5 separate regions of the Homo sapiens genome follow, and regions 1, 2, 3 and 5 are each linked to region 4. The links are contacts of gene promoters, found by promoter capture Hi-C in blood cells and fetal thymus (Javierre and others, 2016). All regions are on one chromosome and are shown on one strand. The core of a region is centred on a gene start or on the middle of the fragment in contact, and the rest is flanking DNA. Distances in the headings are between cores, read along the strand shown. Region 1 overlaps SCRN3 (secernin 3). Region 2 overlaps GPR155 (G protein-coupled receptor 155). Region 3 overlaps GPR155 (G protein-coupled receptor 155). Region 4 holds the start of CHN1 (chimerin 1). Region 5 overlaps GPR155-DT (GPR155 divergent transcript).

Region 1 (2,700 bases), core at 86-2,585, 590 kb after region 4:
ATCTTGACTTTCAAGTAGATAGGAGTGCCCACCTCCTAAGACTACTCCTACCCTATGCTCCACCCTCAATCACCAACACCTTTTGGGTGAAGTTCTAAACCCAGGAAGGGAAGAGGATGAGTTGTCCTCTCAGACAAAGGAAGATGCAAATCATCCCTCTGGGATGGTTAGGTTATTATCTCAGAGTAGTTGATTCTTCTAAAATGGAAAACTACACTCTTTACCCTCAAATCTTCCATCTATCCTATCTCTACAAATGGCATTTCCAACTGTTCACTGGTTCCCAGCAGAAACCTGGTATTCATTTATGACATCTTTCTCTCTCTAACCTTCACTCTAATTAATTAAGTCCTGTCCATTCTGCCACCAAAGTATATGCCAAATCTGTCCACTTTGCTCCAACTCCATGCCACCACTGCTATTTCTGGGCTAGCTAACCTTTAAGAAAATTAGAGAAAGGAGCCTCTTCTTTGGGGCAGATAGTGGGGCTGGATTTCAGCCCTACTTACCCCCTTGTGCAGGGCATGATCTCCATAACCTTGCTTGGTGGCCCTGGACCCCAGACCAAGCCATCCTGTACTGTTGTAATCAATTCCTTAATGTTTTGGCCACACCCTCATAATAACTACCATATAATTTGTTTAATGAATACATGAGAAGCAAATATCAATCACTGATCCATCTCAGAGTAGTTGCTTTCTGACCGCTTTATAGAACCATTTACCAGCCAGGCACAATGGCTCGCACCTGTAATCTCAGCACTTTGATAGGCCAAGGTGGGCAGATGGTTTGAGCCCAGGAATTCGACACCACCCTGAACAACATGGTGAAACCCTAGCTCTACAAAAAATACAAAAATTAGCCTAGCATGGTAGTGCACACCTGGAATCCCAGCTATTTGGGAGGTTGAGGCACGAGAATAGCTTGAACCCAGGAGGCAGAGGTTGCAGTGAGCTGAGATTACGCCACTGCACTCCAGCCTGAGTATTGGATCGAGACATTGTCTCAAAAAAAATTTTTTTAATACAAACATTTTATCCTTCAAGTGAAGGAGGGTATATTAATCACATTTTTATTAGTAGCATGACCCTTTTAGCAATTATCTGCCACTCAGTAATCTAAATAAAGCTTACTTTGCTGGAATTATTTGGAAGCAAAAGGAGAAAATACATTGGAAGTTATTTTTTAAGAGTTAGTAATAACCCAACATGAAAATGGGAAAAGGATACATTAATAAACAACTCACAAAGCAATTACAAATTTTCAGTAAATGTAAGAATATATCTAATTTCACTAAAAAAAATATTAAAATTGTAACATGCCATTTTTTTTCTTATTTCTCTTTGTGGGTACATAGTAGGTGTATATATTTACATGCCATTTTGCCTACAAAATTTATAAAGGTTGAAAAAAAATCCTCTATTGATAAGCATGTTAGAAAATGGGTACTCAAATATTATTGGCAGTAATTTAAATTTATGTAACTTTTCTGGTGGTCATTTAACAATGTGTTTCAAAAACCTTCAAATGTACATAAGCTTTGACCTGACATTCTACTACAAACTCATTTTTAGAAAATAGTCATGGGGCTGGGTGCGGTGGCTTGGCTGGGTGCAGTGGCTCACGCCTATAATCCCAGCACTTTGGGAGGCCAAGGTGGGCGGCTCATTTGAGGTCAGTTAAGTTAGAGACCAGCCTGGCCAACACGGTGAAACCCATCTCTACAAAAAATAAAAAAATTAGCCAGGCGTGGTGGCAGGCACCTGTAATCCCAGCTACTTGGGAGGCTGAGGCAGGAGAATCGCTGGAATCCAGGAGGCAGAGGTTGCAGTGAGCTGAGATGGTGCCACTGCATTCCAGCCTGGGGGACACAGCAAGACTCTGTCTCAAAAAAAAAAAAAAAAGAAAATAGAAAAGAAAATAGTCATGGATATGAATATAAATAAGCTATAAGCATGTTATATAATTTCAATAATGAAAAACTAAAAATAACCCAAATAACAGGGATTTGATAGCTAAAGTATGATTCATACAATCAATCTTTATTATACAATGATTAAAATACTACCATAAGGGAATAACAAAATAATAGGATACTACATATCTGTTTTAAAAAATGAGAATGTTCTGTATATATTGAAACAGAATGATCTACATCATATATTGCTAACTGATCTACATCGTATATTGCTAACTAAAGTTATGTGGAGAAAAGTGTAAATAGCATGCTATCATTTCTGTAAAAAAAGAAAAATTACATATTTGTTTCATTAAGCATATATCATCTCTGGAAGAACACATAAGGAACTGCATATGGGAAAAAAAACTAAGTATCTCAGGACAGGGTAGGAAAGAGAGACTTCATTGTATAATCTTGTGTACTTTAGAATTTTGAATCATGTGAATATATTAATTTTTATAAGTAAAATAATATCATAGAATATTAAATGGCATGGGAAGGAGTTCTACTTTCAATGTGGCTAAGTGAGCTCCTATCAGGCCAATCCTCCCGCAGATAACTATCAACTTGGGACAAAATACAGAAAAACAACTACCTGAAGGCTCTTTACAATTAACAAATGAAGTAACATTCTGGAGGAAAGGTGAAAGTTGGGAGACAGAATGAAGCATAGGGTAAGTTTATTTTTGTTATGGCTTTAGCTTGAGGGAAGCCCATGGTCAATGCTGTGTCATTCTATG
Region 2 (2,700 bases), core at 95-2,594, 530 kb after region 4:
CCCAGGCTGGAGTGCAGTGGCGGGATCTCGGCTCACTGCAAGCTCCGCCTCCCGGGTTCACGCCATTCTCCCGCCTCAGCCTCCCAAGTAGCTGGGACTACAGGCGCCCGCCACTACGCCCGGCTAATTTTTTGTATTTTTAGTAGAGACGGGGTTTCACCATTTTAGCCGGGATGGTCTCGATCTCCTGACCTCGTGATCCGCCCGCCTCGGCCTCCCAAAGTGCTGGGATTACAGGCGTGAGCCACCGCGCCCGGCCGAGAAACCTAATCTTTTACATGTTTTCACGTTTGCCTCTCTCCTTGTGAACGACTGTGGCTGTTCTTTTTTATCTTTCTCAACTTCAAATCAATTATAAATCAGCCTTTATTTGCATTAGATTGTATAATTTCGGGACCCATTGTCAAAAATGTGCTAGAGACCAGTTGTTTACTGAAAGGCCCTAAGTTGCTCTAATAAACTAAAGACTAGGTCACCAACCCTCACGTCTACCAGGAAACTGCTAGAAGTCTGATCCCACTCACTCACCTCCCTCATGAGATTAAAAAAACACATCTTATGCAGTGGTTAAGTCCTAAAGTCATCTTGTATATTCAAACTCTTGAAAATGCCCACCAAATACAGCACACATACTTTGTCTATATTGTACCATTTTTCATAAGTCTAACACAGCCAGATTTTTTTAGCTAGCATTGTTCTTCAATGAACAGCAGTTGAAATAATTTGTTTGCACTTGGAAACATGCTATGGGGGGTGGGGGGAAATGAAGCTTTTGTTTTCCCAAGAGGGTATGGTTGAATTTGTGTTAACTAAATGTGCATTGATGTGACTCTACTGTATTTCCCTCCCAAACATTGTAAGATCCACCTTTCTATCTCTACTCCTTAAGTATCTCCACTGGTCTTCTTTGAAGGCATTCATTCCTTTTCATTCCTCTCAAATGGAGGTTGTTCATTTTCCCATTGCCAGCACACCACATGAGCAGTGGAAGGTAGGACTGGCATCCCCACAGCTACTGTGGACCATTGCTAGACCATCCCTCTGCTCTGCTGTTAAAAACTGCTTTGAGGTTCATACTTTCCGGCTAGACCACTGATCCTCTCTGCTGTTACCTGCTGACCTCATTCTAGGCATTCCCTCTCATTTACCTTTATCCCAAGTTTTGTCATTGTCTTGTGAACTACCATGAAATTCTCTGCCCTGTCATTTCCTTGACCTCCTCTTCTCCAGTGATGTTTTCCTTTACTCCATTTCAGCCACTAAGTCCCATAGCCACATCCTGGACCTTGTCATCTGGAAAATATTTAACTGAGTAGCTCATTAGCTGTTTTACTCTGAACTCCCGCACTTCCAACTGTCCCTAATTCCTAGAGGCCTCCAAACATCTCCCATCTTCATTTCTTTTCTTACACAGCTTGGATTCCACATCCGTGCTCCTTTTTAGTTCCTGAAATAACTCCTACTCTCTCCTCAACCCTCTGTGATCTGACTTCTGTCTCTTACCACTCCAGTAAAACTGTTCTTTCCATGGATACCAATAAACACATTTTTGCTATTACTACTTAAATGTTTAGTTTGTCCCTAGATTTTTACTTTGAATTGTTTCTTCTAAAAATTCTACAATTCTGCTCATTTTTGGAGACTAATTTTAACCCTTAGATGGTAAAAATTAGTGAGGTTTAAAAATAATGTGTAAACTTGGTTATCATTTTATAAGCTATATGATATTTATTATGTTTTTCTTTTTTCAGCTTTATTACTAAAATGTACTTTTCCAAAATAGGCTATTTGGGTCATTTTGAAAATTTTAGATTTATCATTGCTATAAAGTACAGAAAATGTTATATACATAACATATATCTGTATTTCTGTGGTCATCATTTAAAAATCAATATTCTTGTTTTGCAGTTGAAGCTTTATATCAAACTACATACCCAGAATATCTCCAGTACATTTATTTGGTGGCACCAATATCTCTTATGATGTTAAACCCTATAGGGTTTATTTTCTGTGAAATCCAAAAGTGGAAAGACACTCAAAATGCTTCTCAAAATAAAATAAAAATTGTGGGACTCGGACTCCTGCGTGTATTACAGAACCCAATAGTATTTATGGTCTTCATTGGCATCGCCTTCAATTTTATTCTTGATCGAAAGGTACCTGTATATGTCGAAAATTTTCTTGATGGACTTGGAAATTCTTTTTCTGGATCAGCCCTATTTTATCTTGGTCTCACGATGGTGGGAAAAATAAAGAGACTGAAGAAGTCGGCATTTGTAGTACTAATTCTTCTCATCACAGCTAAACTGTAAGCATCACTTATTTAACTTGAGAATTGTACTTTTTGAAAGCCGTATTTAGCCAATTCATCAGGGGTATGTCTGCAACCATTTTCCCCTTTGAATATTAATAACCCCTCCTTGTAGAATAGTTGTGAGATAAAGGAAAATGTGATGGTGTATTGTGGAAAGTCATTTCCTTATTCCCAGTAGCTTATTCTTTCCATCTTACTGTCAGAGGATAAAGATGATGGGTTTCCCTTCAGCTTTTACATAAAGTTTACTCAGTATCTCCTCATGTCCCAGTTTGACAGTATTTTCAAATAAATTTTGCAGCATTTCTGACTTTTCCAAATCCATAAAGACCCTAAAGACAAAAGCATCTTAGTGATAACCAGAACAATAATTTCTAATGCAAACT
Region 3 (2,700 bases), core at 76-2,575, 550 kb after region 4:
ATCAGGGTAATTAGCATATCTATCACTTCAAAATGTATAATTTCTTTGTTGTAGGAACATACAAAATCCTCTCTTCTATTTTGAGATGTACAGTATCTTTGTTGACTATAGCCACCATACTGTATGATAGGGCACTAGAACTTATTCTAATGTAACTTTGTACCTGTTGACCCCATCCCTGCCACCCCCTACCTGCCCAAGTATCCGGTACCCACTACTCATCCTTCCTTCCTTTCCCTTCCTTCTCTTCCTTCCTTTCCCTTCCTTCCCTTCCTTCCTTTTCCTTCCTTTCTTTTCCTTCCTTTCCCTTCCTTCCCTTCCCTTCCTTCCCTTTCCTTCCCTTTCCTTCCTTTCCCTTCCTTCCTCTCCCTTCCTTCCTTTTCCTTCCTTCCCTTCCCTTTCTTCCCTTCCTTTCCTTTCCTTCCTTTCCCTTCCTTCCCTCCCTCCCTCCTTCCCTCCTTCCCTTCTTCCCTCCCTCCTTCCTTCCTTCCTTCCTTCTTTCCCCAGGCTGGAGCGTGACTGCTCCCTGTAATCTCAAACTCCTGGACTCAAGCAGTCCTCCCACCTCATCCTCCCAAGAAGCTGTACTATAGCCATATGCCAGCATGCCCAGCTATTTTTTAAAAAGCTTTTTGTAAAGACAGAGTCTTGCTGTATTACCCAGGCTGATCTTAGGTTCCTAGCCTCGGCTGGGCATGGTGGCTCACACTTGTAATCCCAGCACTTTGGGAGGCCGAGGCGGGCAGATCGCCTGAGGTCGGGAGTTCTAGACCAGCCTGGCCAGCATGGTGAAACCCTGTCTCTACTAAAAATTCAAAAATTAGCTGGGCCTGGTGGCAGGTGCCTGTAATCCCAGCTACTCGGAAGCTGAGGCGGGACAATCGCTTGAACCCAGGAGGCGGAGGTTGCAGTGAGCCGAGATTGCGCCACTGCACTCCAGCCTGGGCAACAGAGTGAGACTCCACCTCAAAAAACAAAAAAACAGAACAAAACAAAACAAAATCCTAGCCTTAAGTGATCCTGCCACCTCAGCCTCCTGAAGCAACAGGTGTAAGCTACCATGCCTGGCCACATTCAGTGCTTCTATGAGATTAAGTTTTTTTTATTTTGTATATGAGTGAGAACATTTGAATACTTTTGGATAGATACCATGTGAAAACTATTGAGGCTACATGGGAAGTGTGTGTGAGTGGATTTTGTTTTGTTTTCTTTGGCATTTCTTAAAATTGTCCATTTCTGTTGTGGTTGGGCTCTACTCTCACATACTATTTGATTGATATAGGTTGCTGCTCCTGCTCCATGGGAAATGGTGAATTACACTGCCCATCAATAGAGCCAATAGCAAACACAAGCACCAGTGAGCCTGTGATTCCTTCGTTTGAGAAAAGTAAGTGCCTCTGGACTATGAGGATGGGATTAAGGGACAGAAGATTCCTTATTCTTTTTTTTTTTTTTCTTTTTTTTGAGACGGAGTCTTGCTCTGTCACCCAGGCTGGAGTGCAGTGGCGCTATCTTGGCTCACTGCAAGCTGTGCCTCCCAGGTTCACGCCATTCTCCTGCCTCAGCCTCCTGAGTAGCTGGGACTACAGGCGCCCACCACCATGCCCAGCTAATTTTTTGTATTTTTAGTAGAGACGGAGTTTCACTGTGTTAGCCAGGATGGTCTCGATCTCCTGACCTCGTGATCTGCCTGCCTCGGCCTCCCAAAGTGCTGGGATTACAGGCGTGAGCTACCACACCCGGCCAGAAGATTCCTTATTCTTATCCCTCAAAAGAACTCTACATAGAATATCTATAGAAGTTACAAACATCAAGAATATAGATCCTCAATTAAGAGCAAAGAAGTGCTAATAGGGAATAATTGTGCATAGACAGAATACTCACTTTAAAAAATAAAGTTCTCACAAAGTGATAATAGGTAGTGTCATACACACATTTTCCAATAAATTTAACCCAAGTGACAAATCCAGGAAGTTTGCCCTAAAGGGCATTTTGGTGGGAGGTGGAGAGAGGGAAGCTTTTTTCTTGTTTTAGAAACAGACTTTTCCCCCATTCTCATCCCCTAGGACCAGGACTAATTAATTAGTTCTTAATTATATTTTGAATCTTTATGCTTTAAATATGGCCATTCTTATAAAATAAGGAACAAACACCTTTAAAAGTAATAACCTCTTGGCCAGACAAGGTGGCTCACGCCTGTAATCCCAGCACTTTGGGAGGCCGAGGCGGGTGGATCACAAGGTCAGGAGTTCGAGACCAGCCTGGCCAACATGGTGAAACCCCGTCTCTACTGAAAATACAAAAATTAGTTGGGTGTGGTGGTAATCCCACCCAACTGTAATCCCAGCTACTTGGGAGGCTGAGGCAGGAGAATTGCTTGAACACAGGAGGCGGAGGTTGCAGTGAGCCAAGATCACGCCACTGCACTGCAACCTAGGTGACAGAGCAAGACTCCATCTAGGGGGAAAAAAAAAGTAATAACCTTTTGACTAAGAGGCTGAATTACATTTGTGGCCTAAATTTCAAATTATTCAAAACAACCGAACATACTTATGTGGAATTGCAGTGCATTTTTCGTTGATTATACTTATTTATAATCAAACTAAAAAGGGAAACCCCCAAAAATGCTCTTTTTGATAAGGCCTATGTCAACTGTATTATTGCTAAAGGCATTATGTTTTTATATAAGAAATGTAAGGA
Region 4 (2,700 bases), core at 76-2,575:
CCATTTTACATCACAAAATTCCAAACATATAGCATCTTAAACACTTGCCCATTCATGTTGAATCATTTTAATATTTCTTTCTTCCTGAGTTAACTGACTTGAAACAAAAGGCTTGGCTCCTCCTTCCAACCTGCTTTTCTTCTGATGCTTAAGTCTGCTTTGAAATAATGATGGTGAATTAACTGTGGTTCCATTGGAAGTACTGTAGTAATCTCCCACTTTATCAGGATTCGATCTCTAAGATACATTAAATACAAGATATTTCTATAATATTCTTAAAGAATTATTTGAAAATGGGAGAGAAGACACTAGGGAACCTGAGGAACTAAGAGGAAAGACGCCTGTAGAAAGAAAGGAGAACCAAAGAGAAGATCTACATGATCAGATACCAAAATAGTATCAAATCCCTAAGCAGAGAAACAAGAAAAAAGAAGGAATTTCTTAAACAGGGAACACATATAGCAACTAGAGAAGAATGACTTTTTGAATACATTAAACGACAACGACGAAAAACATATAACCCAGCTTTTCAAGAACATCTTTTGGCTGACAATCTCAAGGCGTTGTATGGCTCCTCATGGCAGAGACAGAGGTGAGGAGACAACATCACAGAAAGGAGGACGTTGCCAGTGATTATCAGATAAATACAAGAAGCTCAGGGGAACAATCTTTTGTGGCAAATAAGTGCCAGTCAGTGACACATGCTGATTTTTTTTTCCTTGAGACAATATCAAAGAGGTATAATGTAAAGGGAAGAAAATCAGGTGTAAGCATTGGTCTTTTAACAAATTATCTTAGGTAATCTCAGATGCTTTTTAAGCGACTCCTTTTCCTAATGTGTGTCAATTTCATCAGAACTACTAGCAGCTCCTAAGTCCAAACGGAGAGGAATGCAGCTTTCAGTGCCTCTGTTCCTACCAGAGCCCTGCAGCTTCAGGTCACCGGCTCCAGCCACAGTGAGCCTGGAGGGCGCCAGGAGAAGAAATATGTTCTCACACGCACCAGGTCCCCAGATGACCCTGCCTGGGCGCTGCGTTCACTCAGCATCCTCCTGTGACTCTTCCTCTTTCGAGTAACAGCGTTTTTCTCCTCTCTGCGCCTCCTCAAATTCCATTCAAGAAAAAACCTGGGCTTTCAGCTAAAACGCACACCGGCCCCGCTCCATCCCGCTCCGGGCGGCCGCCTCCAGGGGGGCGCTGGTGGCTCCTCGCAGCCGCGGGAATGAGGGCGCACCCTCTTACCCCCGCGCGCGCCCGTTGCCATGGGAACGCACTCGACCGGGAAGCCCGAGGGAGAGGCGGGAGGCAGCGGCGCGGCCGAGCTCGTGGGAGACGCTATCGCAAGATGGCGTCTGCGAGGCCGCGGGATGCGGAGTGAGCGCGCCCCGCCGGGGGCTGTGCGAGGCTGCTGCTGCTCTCCCCGTCGCCGCCGCCGCCGCCGCCAGTGCGGCGCCGCCTCTCCGCCAGCCACTGCGCCGCGGCCAAGCCTCCTGCCTCGCAGGTACCTCCTCCCGCGCGCACGCTCCGCGCCTGATGGCAGCGACAAGTGCCGGCTCGCGGAGAGCTAGCGGGGCTCCCTGGGCCCGGTGCGCCCGACAATAACGCGTGAATAACTTTTTCTTGCAGCGGTCCCCCGCGTCCCGGCCTGCAGCCTCCCCGGGCGCCGGCGCCCCCAGCACGCCCCATCGGGCACCCCACTCTCTCCGAGGTGTGGGTGCGGCGGGCTGATGAGGTGATCCCTAGCCCGCCTGGGAGGAGCGCCTGGACTCGCGGGCGGCGGCGAGCGCCTTTACAATGGCCCTGACCCTGTTTGGTAAGTGCAGCCGTCTCCCCGCGCCGCCGCAGGTGGGCCGCGTCCCGGGGCTCGGGGGCGGGGGCCTGGGGGGCCTGGGCGCCCGGGGAGGGGGCGCGGCGCGTGGGGTCGGGGCGGGCCGGGGCCGCAGAGTTGGGGCGCCCGGGGCGCCGGCTTGCTCCCTCGCGCCTCTCCCATTGTTTCCTCTCCCGGCAGGGCCGATGGGCGTGTGCTCCCCTGGCCAATTCTCGGCTGGGAGGCTCAGAGGTCCTGGGTGTTTTGCAAACGCACAAAGATTCTCTAAGATGCCAACTTGGGAGTGAAGTTAACTGGTTGTTTTCAAACCTGCCTTTCCCGTCGGTAAATAAATCCTTGGAAAGTTTATTTATTTTGAACGAGGTATCTGTGAGTCCCCAGCCTCCTTGGAATTGCCAAATGCATGTGTTGCTTCCTGTTGGACTATTGGGGAATTTTTTTTTTGGACTCAGTATATTCCGTTGGAAATAAGTATGATTTGTGAACTGAATATGGGTTAAAATTGAAAATGTTTGCACTAACGAATGAGAGCAGACAGAATAAAGTTGGTTACCAGAAGATAACTGTAATCTCAGGAGACTGAGTATTCATTAAGAATGAAATGTTATTTTTGTGGTGTAATTACTGCAGCACTGTTGCTTTTGGTGGTTAAGACTTCAAGCTGTTTTTTTCTCAGTCTGCAATGACAATGGGTTGGGAAAAAGGACTGAAAAGATACATTCTTTCCTTTTACAAAACGACTATGGTACATACGTACCTGACTTTAAGAAAACTCAATATGTGAACATTAGACGTTCAAAGTATTCAGCTTTTTTGAAGAAGCAAAGTACAATGATATGTAATTGATAGCTACGAGAACAGCCTAAGTAAGTT
Region 5 (2,700 bases), core at 7-2,506, 510 kb after region 4:
GCCCACTTTTAAATGAACAATTCAGAAGTAGGAACAAGTGTATTTTTTTGTTTTTCATCTTCATGTTCCTGATCTCTAACTCCTTTCAAAAAAAAAGTGGTCAAAACAAAACCACAAGTATCAAGAAGCTAAGTCTTGAAACAGACTGGTGCGGCCCCCAAAGTTACCATGCTTCTATTGTATGATTTCTGCAGCCTATCTTACGTAAGTCATCGATTTAACTTTCAGTTTCATAAGCTAGTTCTGGTTTCATTGTTTTTCTGCTTAACATTTTTTTTTTTTAGACAGAGTCTTGCTCTGTGGCCCCCGAGCTGGAGTGCAGTGGCATGATCTGGGCTCACCACAACCTCCGTGTCCCAAGTTGAAGCAGTTCTCCTGCCTCAGCCTCCCCAGTACCTGGGATTATAGGCGCGTTCCACTGCACCTGGCTAATTTTTGTATTTTTAGTAGAGACAGGGTTTTACCATGTTGGCCAGGCTGGTCTTGAACTCCTGACCTCAGTGATCCGTCTGCCTTGGCCTCCCAAAGTGCTGGGATTACAGGCGTGAGCCACCGCGCCCGGCCTCTGCTTAACTTCTTAAGTGCTGGCCTAGACAAAAGCCTCTGCCCATTTAATCACATTTGAGCCTTTCTTGGGGTCAATAACAAGATCAATAGCCACGTGAGATGTTTAGGTTCCACTTTATTGCTTTTGTGAGAATATTTCAGTAGCAGATCGAAAGAAAAAAAAAGCTATCGTATATTTATGCACACATAAACATATATATGTATATTAAAAGATAATACTCAGGGTTTTAACTTGACAGATCAGAAATAATTATTTAATTCTAGCATTTACAATCACAAAAAGGAGTCAACAATTTGGCGGAATATTTATTTATTTATTTATTTGAGATGAAGTCTTGCTCTGTCGCCCAGACTGGAGTGCAGTGGCGTGATCTTGGCTCACTGCAACCTTCGCCTCCCCGGTTCAAGCAATTCGCCTGCCTCAGCCTCTCAAGTAGCTGGGATTACAGGCACGCGCCATCACACCCAGCTAATTTTTGCATTTTTAGTGGAGACAGGGTTTCACCCTGTTGGCCAGCCTGGCTTCACATGATCTGTCCACCTCAGCCTTCCAAAGTGCTGGGATTATAGGTGTGAGCCACTGTGTCTAGCCAGGGGGAATATTTAAATAAAGCTATAAAACTTGGCCAAGTGAAAAGCTGGAAACAAGAAATCCAGTTACTGTAAAAGATCTATGTCACAGTTGCTTGTATCAAATACTTCCCATAGTTACAATCCAACTTCCTAGATAGCTGATAGGCAATTATGTTTTATTAAATCATTCAAAAACCATTTACAGAATGCCTGCCATATGTCAGGGAAAGCACTATTCTAAATGCTGAGAATACAAAGATCAACAAAAGCAAGGCCTTTGTCTTCTCTAAGGTCATAGGCTGCATCATATCCATGCTCTTAAATCATTCTATTTTATGGGTGGATTTCATATATATTCCTGGTTTAATAAACGATCATCGTTTTAAAATTTGTTTTAGAAGATTTTCATATAGCCAAAATACATACTTTGTATATTAATTTTATCAAGAAAAAGGGAAACTTTTCTGCACAGAAAAAAAAAATTTAAATCATGTGTATTCTTACCACTCAGAGATAATTACTGTTGCATTTTCCTTTAGCATTTTTCCTATGCATTTGATTTTAAGTAATAGAAAACCCAACTCAAACTTGTTTAAACAATGAAGAAAACTGATTGGTACACATCAATGAAGAGTCCACAGGCCAACCGGTGAGGCTGCTTTAGGTGGGGCTTGACCCCACAACTCAATATGTCATCAAGGTCCCTGTTTATTTCCTTCTCTCTGCTGTGGCTACCTTGGTCTCTGCACCATTCTAAGACTGGCTTCTCTTATGGTTCTAAAATGGCTGTCGGCATCTTCCTCTTGTCTAGCAAGAAAGAGAAGATCAGCATTCTCTGCAAAAGTCCTGAAAATTATTCAGCTGAGCTACTTCAGGATCAGTGCCTACCCTGACTAATCATTAAGTGCAAAGGGATGAAATACACTGATTGGACAGCCTACATTAGTTACATCATCTCTGAAGGGAGAGTGAAGTCAACTTCTCTGGAAACATGAATCCCTAAAGAGAAAATGATGCTATTGGGAAGGGGAAGGGGAGTTTTAAAGAAACTAAAAGTTTTTAAACAAAATCTGGCATCGTACTAGACATGTTCAAACAGCACATTTTAAGTCACTCTCTTTTATTTTTCTATGCTTTACTCAACTTTGATTAGACTTTATAGATGGCCCAGTTTCCACTTTTTCGAAGAAGATCATCCTCAAAATTTCGCTAGGGAGTATTTAATAGGCATTAAAAATGATATAAATCTATCTATATGAATAAATTGTTTATGGATTAAAAAGGTATTACTAAATGAGAAGTGACTAAAATCATGTGTATGAAAATCATATGTATAATCCTATTTTTCTTAAATAATCTATATTTGCATAAAATGATACATATATGGTATAATATTAAAGAAGTTATCCATAGGTATGATTTTCACTTTCTTCATTCCTTTCTGTATTATCTGAATATGTTATCATTGTTATTACTTTCATAGAAAGAAACATTAGAAGTACTTCATTTTGGAAAAGATAAAATTCACCAGGAATCCACATGTACATCATATTGCCTCAA

The links. The method cuts DNA at HindIII sites, captures the fragments that hold promoters and counts their contacts. A CHiCAGO score of 5 or more calls a contact.
Region 1: a fragment that was not itself captured here is called in contact with the fragment with the promoter of CHN1 in region 4 in 1 of 17 cell types (total CD4 T cells); the score reaches 5.7 in total CD4 T cells.
Region 2: a contact is called between a fragment that was not itself captured here and the fragment with the promoter of CHN1 in region 4, in 1 of 17 cell types (activated CD4 T cells). The highest score is 7.3, in activated CD4 T cells.
Region 3: a contact is called between a fragment that was not itself captured here and the fragment with the promoter of CHN1 in region 4, in 2 of 17 cell types (total CD4 T cells and naive CD8 T cells). The highest score is 5.9, in total CD4 T cells.
Region 5: a contact is called between a fragment that was not itself captured here and the fragment with the promoter of CHN1 in region 4, in 1 of 17 cell types (naive CD4 T cells). The highest score is 5.4, in naive CD4 T cells.

What each region holds. Positions count from the first base shown.
Region 1 is chr2:174,413,970-174,416,669 of GRCh38, reverse strand. The region is part of intron 5 of SCRN3 (secernin 3); the gene reads right to left. Among named protein-coding and RNA genes, the nearest start is that of SCRN3, 20 kb to the right of the region's middle. The HindIII fragment of the contact is 410 bases long and covers 1,131-1,540 here.
Region 2 is chr2:174,472,573-174,475,272 of GRCh38, reverse strand. GPR155 (G protein-coupled receptor 155) reads left to right here. Exons shown (of 16, transcript NM_152529.7): 3 at 1,909-2,308. Among named protein-coding and RNA genes, the nearest start is that of GPR155, 13 kb to the left of the region's middle. The HindIII fragment of the contact is 1,145 bases long and covers 772-1,916 here.
Region 3 is chr2:174,452,424-174,455,123 of GRCh38, reverse strand. It overlaps GPR155 (G protein-coupled receptor 155), which reads left to right. Exons shown (of 16, transcript NM_152529.7): 11 at 1,283-1,387. Among named protein-coding and RNA genes, the nearest start is that of GPR155, 33 kb to the left of the region's middle. The HindIII fragment of the contact is 1,389 bases long and covers 631-2,019 here.
Region 4 is chr2:175,004,006-175,006,705 of GRCh38, reverse strand. It overlaps CHN1 (chimerin 1), which reads left to right and starts at 1,325. Exons shown (of 13, transcript NM_001822.7): 1 at 1,325-1,812. The coding sequence starts at 1,794. RefSeq lists a silencer at 1,565-1,624 and an enhancer at 1,609-2,155. The HindIII fragment of the contact is 4,598 bases long and covers 1-2,700 here.
Region 5 is chr2:174,490,768-174,493,467 of GRCh38, reverse strand. GPR155-DT (GPR155 divergent transcript) reads right to left here. Exons shown (of 3, transcript NR_183819.1): 3 at 666-2,700. Among named protein-coding and RNA genes, the nearest start is that of GPR155-DT, 4.7 kb to the right of the region's middle. The HindIII fragment of the contact is 4,676 bases long and covers 1-2,700 here.